2 separate regions of the Homo sapiens genome follow, and region 2 is linked to region 1. Evidence: promoter capture Hi-C in human tissues and cell types (Jung and others, 2019). All regions are on one chromosome and are shown on one strand. The core of a region is centred on a gene start or on the middle of the fragment in contact, and the rest is flanking DNA. Distances in the headings are between cores, read along the strand shown. Region 1 holds the start of GAS6 (growth arrest specific 6). Region 2 overlaps TMEM255B (transmembrane protein 255B).

Region 1 (5,281 bases), core at 2,058-4,557:
TCCCAAGGCAGAAGAATTTTTCTTAGTACAGAACAAAATGAAAAGTCTCCCATGTCTACCTCTTTCTACACAGACACGGCAACCATCCGATTTCTCAATCTTTTCCCCACCTTTCCCCCCTTTCTATTCCCCAAAACCGCCATTGTCATCATGGCCCGTTCTCAATGAGCTGTTGGGTACACCTCCCAGACGGGGTGGTGGTCGGGCAGAGGGCCTCCTCACTTCCCAGTAGGGGCGGCCGGGCAGAGGTGCCCCTCACCTCCCGGACGGGGCGGCTGGCCGGGCGGGGGGCTGACCCCCCCACCTCCCTCCCGGACGGGGCGGCTAAAAATTTTTAAAGTGACCACAGAAAGTATGGGTGGGGATGTGGAGCAACTGGGACCCTCATGCATTGATGGTGAAAATGAAAAACAGTATAACCACTTTGAAAAACAGTTTAAAAAGTTAAACAAATACCTACTATGGGATCCAGACACTCTGCTCCTAGATATTTCCCCAAGAGAAATGGAAGCACGTGTGCACACAATGTCCACACGATGGACACACACATGAATGCCTACAGCAGCTTTATTTGTGATAGTAAAAATTTAGAAGCAAGTATAATGTCCCTCAACAGGTGAATGATAAACAAATTGTGTTATATCCATACAGTGGAATACTACTGAGCAATAAAAAGGAATACACCTGCAACAAGATAGATGATTCTGAAAATAAATATGTTAAGTGAAAAAAACAGACAAAAAAGTGTACATACAGTATAATTCTTTTTATATAAAAGTCTAGAAAATACAAACAAATCTATAGTGATAGAAAGTTGGTCAGCGGTTTTTGCATAGAAACTGGGATGTGGGGTAGGGTGGGGACATTTAGGAGGGAGGAATTACCAAAGGGCATGAGAACACTTTTTTGGGTGATGGATATGTTCCCTAACTTGATTGTGATGATGGCTTCACAGGTGTACACAGCTTTCCACCTCATGGCCACAGACCGGTTAACCATCCATATAAAACATCCATTGCCCTGGGTCCAACCTCCTGCCCCCTGTGGAGGTGAACTGTCTACTTCACCATTGATATTTCAGGTTGTATGATATAGTGCCTGACAACTCTCCATTTTTGGAACACATCCAAATTGTTTCTTATTCATTTTCCATTTCTGCCTTCGAACGAATTTCCTGCACTGGTAACTAGGTGAAGAATTTTGGAGTTATCTGGGGTAATGGAGACATCCTCCATTGCACCGCATATTTGCTTTCTGTATTCCCCAGTTATAGAAATCAAAACGAGCAGTTGTATGTGAATGCATTGTATCAAACCAAGTCTCTAGATGATAGGAGGCATTGTCATTACTAGGATAGTAACTCAGTAGAAAGAGTGAATTGAGAATATGAGGAATGAGAGTGGGGTCCAGACTAAAAGGAGGCCAGGGGTCCTGAACTGCCCCATCCAACTGAGTTCATTCTGATACCTACTGATCTGAAGCAGCAGGTCCACGCCCAGGTGCAGATTGTCCCAGATGAACAGGCAGAGGCTAGAGATGCTCATTCCTAAAGGGATCAAATAATTCTGAGAATGGCAAGAACTCCATTAACTCTCTTCTCCAAAACTACAAAAATGTGCAGAAAATACGAACAATTTTTAGGAGCTTACACTCTTTGAAGTTTATCCATGGGCTGCTGGAACCCTTAGGAAATAATAGCTAGAAGTGCCTCAGACACTGCCTGGCACACAGCAGGTGCTCAATGAATTACACTGCCTGGCACATAGTAGGTGCTCAATGAATTGTCTGATGAAGTGATTAAGGAGCCTTGTAAATACTGATTAAAACATGTATCACCCCATCCAATTTTTCAAACCAGTGCTTCTCAAGAACAAGCAGGAAAATTAATGTAATATTGTTTTGAAGTAGCCGTGGTGGTTTCGGGGCAGAAGCCCAGGGGTACTCCTTACTCCGCCTGCTCCAGTAACTAGCTGACATGGAAGTGCCTCGTCATTCTGGTTCAGACACAGGTGCAGATAGATGACTTCTCTATCCCACTTTAATTCTCCTTGAAGATCATTCCCAGGGACATTCATTTGCTTAAATTAACATGCTCGGCCAGGCGCGGTGGCTCACACCTGTAATCCCAGCACTTTGGGAGGCCCAGGCGGGCGGATCACGAGGTCAGGAGATTGAGATCATCCTGGCTAACACGGTGAAACCCCGTCTCTACTAAAAATAAAAAAAATCAGCCGGGCGTGGTGGCGGGCGCCTGTGGTCCCAGCTACTCGGGAGGCTGAGGCAGGAGAATGGCGTGAACCCGGGAGGCGGAGCTTGCAGTGAGCAGAGATCACGCCACTGCACCCCAGCCTGGGCAACATAGCGAGACTCCGTCTGAAAACAAACAAACAACAACAACAAAAATTCATGCTCATAATCCCACTTTCAAACCAGTGACCTCAAAGATTTCTAGCAGCAATCCTATTCCATTCTTCCAATTACAGAAAGCAAAGAGAAACTGGATCTGGGGATCTAAGCGTTGAGCCTGCTGAGCAGAACGGCCATTCATTTGGGGTGAGGTGCTGACTCACTGCCCCTCTACATTGCATTTTGGGGTGTGGGGATTTCCAGAGCAGGATTCTCCAGAGAGGAGTATCCAAGCTCCCTCCTCCCGCAGCAGGGGGATGCTGGGCTAACTGCCTGGTTCGGTCCCCCGTGAGTGGTCTGCTGTGTTTTGGTTCTGTTTGTTTGTGTGTGTTTTGCCTATGACTTTGCGAAATATTCCAAGACAAGAGCCAGAAAGTCTTGGTCTCTGAAGACAAGCACAATGTTGCTTTCAGCTTAAATATCTACTGGGAAACCTCAAGATTTTTAATGTCATCATTATGAAAAACAGAGATTATAAAAGGAAACCGTCGCATTTCACTCGCTGGCCCCCAGTGGGATTGGATCTGACCTCAGTGTATCTTTTCTTTGGTAGGTTTTAAGTCTTGACAAAATGTGCCTAAGAATGAAGACTCCAAAAAGGATGCAGTAGATTCGGGGGGAGTGGGGGTTGGAAAGAGGCTTAAATCTTCACATGACACCTGGAATATGGTCAAAATGTACCTGCTCAAGTTGAACCAGGTATTGCGTCCTCCTTTTACCCCATCGCTAGTGAAGACAACCACCGCCTGGGGAGACGCTCCTTTTCCGAAACACTCGAGTCCCGCCGCGTCCCGGACGCTCCGCTTTCCCCGCGCCCGGATCCTCCCGGGAACCCGCGCCCCGCCCGCGCGCTGGTCCCGCCCCCGCCGCCTCCCCGCGCGCAGCCGCCCGAACACGCCCAGACCGAGCGCTTGAGGTGCCGCAGCCGCCGCCGCCGCCGCCGCCGCGATGTGACCTTCAGGGCCGCCAGGACGGGATGACCGGAGCCTCCGCCCCGCGGCGCCCGCGGCTCGCCTCGGCCTCCCGGGCGCTCTGACCGCGCGTCCCCGGCCCGCCATGGCCCCTTCGCTCTCGCCCGGGCCCGCCGCCCTGCGCCGCGCGCCGCAGCTGCTGCTGCTGCTGCTGGCCGCGGAGTGCGCGCTTGGTGAGTCCCGCGGGCCCGAGACCCCGTCCCCGGGCGGCGGGAGGAGGCTCCGGGCGCGGCTTGACGCGTCCCCCTCTCTCCCTCCGGGCAGCCGCGCTGTTGCCGGCGCGCGAGGCCACGCAGTTCCTGCGGCCCAGGCAGCGCCGCGCCTTTCAGGTCTTCGAGGAGGCCAAGCAGGGCCACCTGGAGAGGGAGTGCGTGGAGGAGCTGTGCAGCCGCGAGGAGGCGCGGGAGGTGTTCGAGAACGACCCCGAGACGGTGAGCAGCCGGCGGGCGGGATGCGGGGGAACCCCTGGCGCCCGCGCGCCTCCAACCGCTCCCGAGAGGCAGCGCTGCTGCCGCCCCCCAGCTCCGCGCGGCGAGGCCTGGCCTCAGGGTCCCAGGAGCCCCGGCCCGCCCCGCGTCCCCCACGCCCATCCCCCGGCGACCCCGGGATCCCCGCGCAGGCCGGTGAGACGCTGCGGGGCTGTCCGGGAAACGCTCGCTGTCAGACGCCTCCCCGCGGGGAAGCCGGGAGTCCGTTTCCAAAGTGCGAGAGAAACACAATGGTTAAAACCCAAACCGCTTCCCCGCGGCCCTCCCTCTGCTGGGCTGGAGGTGAGGAACCCCCGGGCCGCGCCTCGTCCTCCTGAGAGGGGTGGAGAGCAGTCCCCTCCCGAAAGAGGAATTGAAAGGGCCGAGGGCGGGAACTGCTTGCGGCAGCAGGTCCAAAAATAAGATTCCAGGAATCGAGCGGGGCCGCATGCGGGAGGGGAGGGCGGCTCCGCGGCCCCGTTCTGCCAGGTGCTCTCCTGGAGGCAGCGGGTGCTTTCAGGAGCCCGACGGTGCTGGCCCCGGCACCTCGGTTAGGAATGTCCTTGGAGAAGGCGGGGCGCCCGGGGCCGCCTCCCGCAGGAGCCGCCGTGTGAGGACGGCCTGGCCACTCTATCCTGCGGGCTCGGGAGCGGGTGACTTTGGAAAGTCCGAGAAGGTGTGGATTCCCGTTGACGTCCCTCCCGCCCTGAAGTCAGGGTGATTTCATAGCGAAGTTTTCCGTTCTGCTGGAATGTTCCTTTTAAAGAATTCTCCTGGGGTGGAATAAATGTCACCCGGGATGAAAGAGTGGTTCTGGATGAACCATGGAGGCCTGTTTCCGCTTACATTTCTAGTGGTTGACTTGACCCCTCTTAGATCTGCCTTTCTGAAAGCTCTGAGGCTGTCAGATGGCCACTGTGCACTTGTGGACATAGCTCATCCCTGCAGAGATGACGCACCTGGGGCTGTTGCCCGGGGGCTGCCCACAGCCCCACAGGCCCGTGCCCTCCTTCAGCTCAGCCTAGCTTGGTCGCTCTCCCCGGCCTCTCTGTTTTCCTGTTTCTTTAATGATGAATCCTGGCCTGTGCTGCTGGCTGAGGCAGGTGGGCCTGTGTGCCCTGGTCGCTCGGAGTCGCCGCCCAGCTGTGGGGTTGGTCGTGTGGCTGGTGCAGTGTCCTCCAACAGCGTCCTCACCCGGAACATTCTGCGTGCACAGGGACTGTGGCATGGGGCGTGCTGGTGATGGGAGTTGAGGGCAGCAGGGTCACCCCCACCCCACAGTACCCGCTCCGCGCAGCCCTGCAAGGCCTGGCCGCAGCCCCTCCTCGCTGTCCTCCAGGACCTGCAGGGCCCATGTCAATCAGACTGGACGCTGCCTGGATGTACTGTGCTGTTCTTCCCAAGTCAGTCCCCTACCTGGTTTTCCAATTTTAATTT
Region 2 (5,281 bases), core at 909-3,408, 74 kb after region 1:
GAGCGGCGTCACATCCCATCATGCCTGCAGACATGCTTCCAGCATTAGATGCAAGCACGCAGAGGGGCCGTGGTCCCGTCACCACTGCACACGCTCCTTAAGAACTCCCACAGTTTCTGTTGGGCACAATTCCCAACCAAAGAGGCAGAAGGAAAAAAGACTTAAAGATGAAGAAAATCACTTTAAAGCTTCCAAAGTTCTTTCGCTCGACCCATCCTTCTAATCCGCACAACTGTGACATCATCATCACAATTTGCATTTTGCAGGTGCGGCTCTAAGGACTTGGGGCTCTAAACATCTTTCGCTCAGACAGCGCCTCAGCTCAGGAGCACAAGCACCCCTTCCCTGCTCCTGGTTGAGTCACCACCCTCAGAGCCACTGGTGTCCCCAAGGGGACATCTGTCCACACGACGTCGCTCCCACAGATCCCTGAGGGGTGTGTGACCAGTGTGGTCCCCCAGATTCGTTGGGGCTGCCCAACGTTAGGAAGCCCACATCTGCCTAGTGGGAGCCGAAGCCATCCCAGGAGGATCCAGCGTCCCTGTCCGGCTCGGCGGCCGGCAGGTGCCACCCGCTAGATGCCCCGGCCACTTTCAGAAGTGGGTGGCAGGTGACTCATCCAGGCTCTGCTGGGTCTCTCACCGTAAATGCGTGCAGCAGAGACTCTGCCAGGATGTGCTGGCCCTAGATGTTCACCTTCCAACCCAGTAACCCCTCATGAATGCCATGGAGCCAGGAACCTGCTGCAACCCAGCCCTGGGCAGGACACAGGCCCAGACCGTTGAGAGGTGTTCATATTTCACCCCCACCCAATTTCACCCAAAACATCACAGAAGCACCGAATTGTTAGAGCATCCCTAAAAATTGCAGGGTCTACCTTCCATCACCCATGTTTCATAAACACATTCAAACTTGGTCATGCATAACACTTCCCACCCTGCGAACGTCCTCGCAGATGTCCCAGCTCTGCCTGGCTGTCCTTCCTCCCGCTCTTTCAGTGTGAAAGGTAAAATTCAGCGAGAGTGTGGCCACGCGCAGCAAGTTCAGTGCTAGGATGTCTACGTGTCCGGTCAGTCCAGAGCTAGGATATCCATGTGTCCAGTCAGTTCAATGCTAGGATGTCTACGTGTCCGGTCAGTCCAGAGCTAGGATGTCCATGTGTCTAGTCAGTTCAGTGCTAGGATGTCCACGTGTCCGGTCAGTCCACAGCTAGGATGTCCATGTGTCCAGTCAGTTCAGTGCTAGGATGTCCACGTGTCCGGTCAGTCCACAGCTAGGATATCCATGTGTCCAGTCAGTTCAGTGCTAGGATGTCTACGTGTCCGGTCAGTCCAGAGCTAGGATGTCCATGTGTCCAGTCAGTTCAGTGCTAGGATGTCCACGTGTCCGGTCAGTCCACAGCTAGGATGTCCATGTGTCCAGTCAGTTCAGTGCTAGGATGTCTACGTGTCCGGTCAGTCCACAGCTAGGATGTCCATGTGTCCAGTCAGTTCAGTGCTAGGATGTCCACGTGTCCGGTCAGTCCACAGCTAGGATGTCCATGTGTCCAGTCAGTTCAGTGCTAGGATGTCTATGTGTCCGGTCAGTCCACAGCTAGGATGTCCATGTGTCCAGTCAGTTCAGTGCTAGGATGTCCACGTGTCTGGTCAGTTCAGTGTTAGGATGCCCACGTGCCCGGTCAGTCCAGCGCTAGGATGTCCACATGCCCGGTCAGTTCAGTGTTAGGATGTCCACGTGTCTGGTCAGTTCAGTGTTAGGATGTCCATGTGCCCGGTCAGTCCAGCACTAGGATGTCCATGTGCCCGGTCAGTCCAGCACTAGGATGTCCATGTGCCCAGTGAATCCAGCACTAGGATGTCCACGTGCCCAGTCAGTCCAGCGCTAGGATGTTCAGGTGCCCAGTCAGTCCAGTGCTAGGATGTCCACGTGCCCAGTCAGTCCAGCGCTAGGATGTCCACATGCCCGGTCAGTTCAGTGTTAGGATGTCCACGTGCCTGTTCAGTTCAGCACTAGGACATCCACGTACATGGTCAGTCCAGTGCTAGGATGTTCACGTGCCCAGTCAGTCCAGGGCTAGGATGTCCATGTACACGGTCAGTTCAGCATTAGGATGTCTATGTACACGGTCAGTCCAGGGCTAGGATGTCCACATGCCCGGTCAGTCCAGGGCTAGGATGTCCATGTACATGGTCAGTTCAGTGTTAGGATGTCCATGTGCCTGGTCAGTCAGCACTAGGACAGCCAGAAACATGAAAATGCCAAGAGCTTCTCATGGTGCTTCAACCCGAGTCCAGGCAGTGGTGTTGGGAAAGACATTGGGAATGGCCTCCTCCAGCTCCTCTGGCTAAGTCCGAAAGTCATTGCCAGAACCAGCCTCACGAGAGCTGCCTCAGGGAACAGCCCACATCCCCCTGGACTGCCTGGCTCTGTCACGACTTTTCTCCAGGCATTGTTAACTCTTGTTCAGATAAATTTTTTGTGACCTAGAACGTGCATAGCAGGAACCAGATCAATTCTCCAAAGACACAAGCAACCCACTCTCCATAGCCCATGAGGACTGCGCATGTCTACGGCCACTGCCAGGAGAAACTCTGTCCCTGCACTGGAGCCACAAGGATCTGGACTGAAGGCTGTGAAGATCTCATTGCATTCTGTTGGGGCATCTTCTCTTGAGCAAAGGTCACCTTCAAATGCCTCTGCTCTCAGAGTTTACATTCCAACAGAAGAAAGTAGATTTACAAAAAAAAAAAAACCACACTGAGCATAAGGTCATGGTGATCAGAGGAAAAGAAGGAAGGGGATAAGGTGGGGAGGGAGAGTGGCCCGGGTGCAGCTACCTCAAGAGGGCGGCTGGGTCTCTGTGGTCTGGGACATTCGAGCAGAGACTCAACAAGGTGGAGACCCTGCCCAGGCCACCCAGCAGCACCTGCAAAGGCCCCACAGCATGGCATGTGGGTCTAAGGAGCACCAGGGCAGTCGGTCGGTGGCCTCCACGAGGCAGGATGAGTGGGGCAGGAGGGAGGGAGGGAGGCGCGGCGCGGCCCCCGGGTGCAGTGGTCAGTGGGAGGGGAGCCAGCTTCCCTGGGGTTTCCCAGAACTCTGGCTGGGGTGAGGGCAGCGGCAGGGCCCAGGCAGGAGGTGACGGCGATGGTGAGGGCCAGAAGCGCGAGTGGAGTACACAGGTCGAGTGTGCAGAGACAAACGGGTGGAGGGCGGCCACACGGTGACACCGTGCTGATGACGGCACAGAGCCAGGGCCCGGATGGGCAAGAGCAGCCACTTCCATCTCACAGGTCTGTTATCACCCACACGATGACGGCTAAGATGGCTGTGTACGCCATAAATCCAGCACTAGGATGGCCACGTGTGGCAGGAGGAGACACAGGGAGCCACCAGCCGAGGGCAGAGAGGAGCCTCTGCTGCGCCAGTGCCAGGCCACGCAGGCAGTGCAACCCCTGAGCCCCCACCCAGGCCAGCAGCTCCACCTGCGAGAGGCACCTGATGCAGCCTCTGCTGCCCATCCCCACCCCCTCCGCCTTCCCCTCTGCCCATCCCCACCCCCTCCGCCTTCCCCTCTGCCCATCCCCACCCCCTCCGCCTTCCCCTCTGCCCATCCCCACCCCCTCCGCCTTCCCCTCTGCCCATCCCCACCCCCTCCGCCTTCCCCTCTGCCCATCCCCACCCCCTCCGCCTTCCCCTCTGCCCATCCCCACCCCCTCCGCCTTCCCCTCTGCCCATCCCCACCCCCTCCGCCTTCCCCTCTGCCCATCCCCACCCCCTCCGCCTTCCCCTCTGCCCATCCCCACCCCCTCCGCCTTCCCCTCTGCCCATCCCCACCCCCTCCGCCTTCCCCTCTGCCCATCCCCACTCCCTCCGCCTTCCCCTCTGCGGCATGGTGCCCCTGGCCGACACCTGGAGCTGCCCATCCCGTCTTAACCACAGATGTCTTCTCAACACCTCCTCCCCGTCCATGCCCTCTCCTCCGCCTCGCTTCCTTTAGAGTAAACCTCCTGGAGAGAGTGGACGGCACCTGCAGCTGGTTCCTCCTTCCTGGGTCACCAAGCCCAAATCTGCCCCTCCCAAGGTCACCATGCCCTGCCTGCCATCAATCCAGGGGTCACCCTCAGCCCCAGCTGACGCGATTCACCATGAGCATTTGACACATTCACGGCTCTCACACTCCCCTCCCCACTGCTTTCCCAGGCACAACCTAATTCACTTCACAAGCAGGTCCCTGCTCACAGTTCTAAGCCATGTACAATTTCAGCTCATTAACAATTTCCTCTCCAGCTTCCCTTCTTCACGTCTGACCTGCACACCTGCCATGCGGGTGTCCCAGAACCACAAAACTCAGGGGCTCCCCACATGGTCGCCACTGTCTACACCCTACACTCGCACCATCCACACCCTCCAAAGACCCTGAACTTTGACCTGCTCATTTCACCTATCATCGGTTTCTGTGAGCAAACGGAGAAGAGAAGCCGCACCACTCAGGTCAGCAACAGGCAGCCTCTGTCCTTTTAAGCCTTCCCCACACACTGAAGAAATTCTTAGAACGTTTAAAAACTGTTTTCCAACTTAAACCAATCAGGCATTATTTTAGTCTAGAATACATGTTTTTCAAATGCTAATAAATAAGTGATAAAGGAGAGCAACCAAATTAAAATCCAGACCGTTGGCTCTGGGAGATGCCCAATGTAGCTCTTCCGAAAACACCCCTGCGCGTGCACGTGGCTGACTGTGGAGCTAGCAGGTTTGCACAAGGCCTACTGTAAGTTTTCTCTATTAGAGACAAAATTTTAAAATTATTTAATTATGACATATTTTCACATGTTCTGTTCATTAAAGTGTCAGAGTCCAGGTATGAAACAACGAACAACTAGAACCTCTCAGAAGTGCCTTACGGGGCCCATTGCCAGGAGTAATGTGGTCTCCTGTGTGAAGGCATGCCCCATGCATGTCACATGTGTAACTAGTGAGCCTGGAACAGGGCTCACTCCTCCTCAAAAACCAAGACGTGGCCTCCTTCTCAGTGAATGAGAGGCCACTACAGATGATCTCCAACGCCACCAGCCCAGACCGAGAAATGAGAAATCCATCGTAATGGTTTCTTCTGATGACTCGTCTGCAATCCCTTTTCCTGCCTGCTCTCTGACGTGGATGCCAGGGAGGAAATTCACTCCCCAGCAGAGAGGAAGCAGCTGCTGCTAGTGACGACAGTGATGACGGTGATGGTGATGACAGTGATGATGGTGATGAGGGTAACGACAGTGATGATGGT

What was found. Contacts are between HindIII fragments. The study calls those that stand out against the background at their distance.
Region 2: a fragment that was not itself captured here is called in contact with the fragment with the promoter of GAS6 in region 1 in 2 of the 25 tissues and cell types used here (mesendoderm cells and spleen).

Annotation. Positions count from the first base shown.
Region 1 is chr13:113,862,102-113,867,382 of GRCh38, reverse strand. GAS6 (growth arrest specific 6) reads left to right here and starts at 3,307. Exons shown (of 15, transcript NM_000820.4): 1 at 3,307-3,550; 2 at 3,642-3,808. The coding sequence starts at 3,463. GAS6-DT (GAS6 divergent transcript) reads right to left here and starts at 3,206. Exons shown (of 2, transcript NR_044993.1): 1 at 3,088-3,206; 2 at 551-2,373. RefSeq lists silencers at 3,614-3,673, 3,694-3,753, 4,234-4,283 and an enhancer at 3,302-3,893. The HindIII fragment of the contact is 22,898 bases long and covers 1-5,281 here.
Region 2 is chr13:113,786,635-113,791,915 of GRCh38, reverse strand. The region is part of intron 3 of TMEM255B (transmembrane protein 255B); the gene reads right to left. Among named protein-coding and RNA genes, the nearest start is that of GAS6-AS1, 26 kb to the left of the region's middle. RefSeq lists enhancers at 2,668-3,196, 3,197-3,726. The HindIII fragment of the contact is 4,986 bases long and covers 1-4,651 here.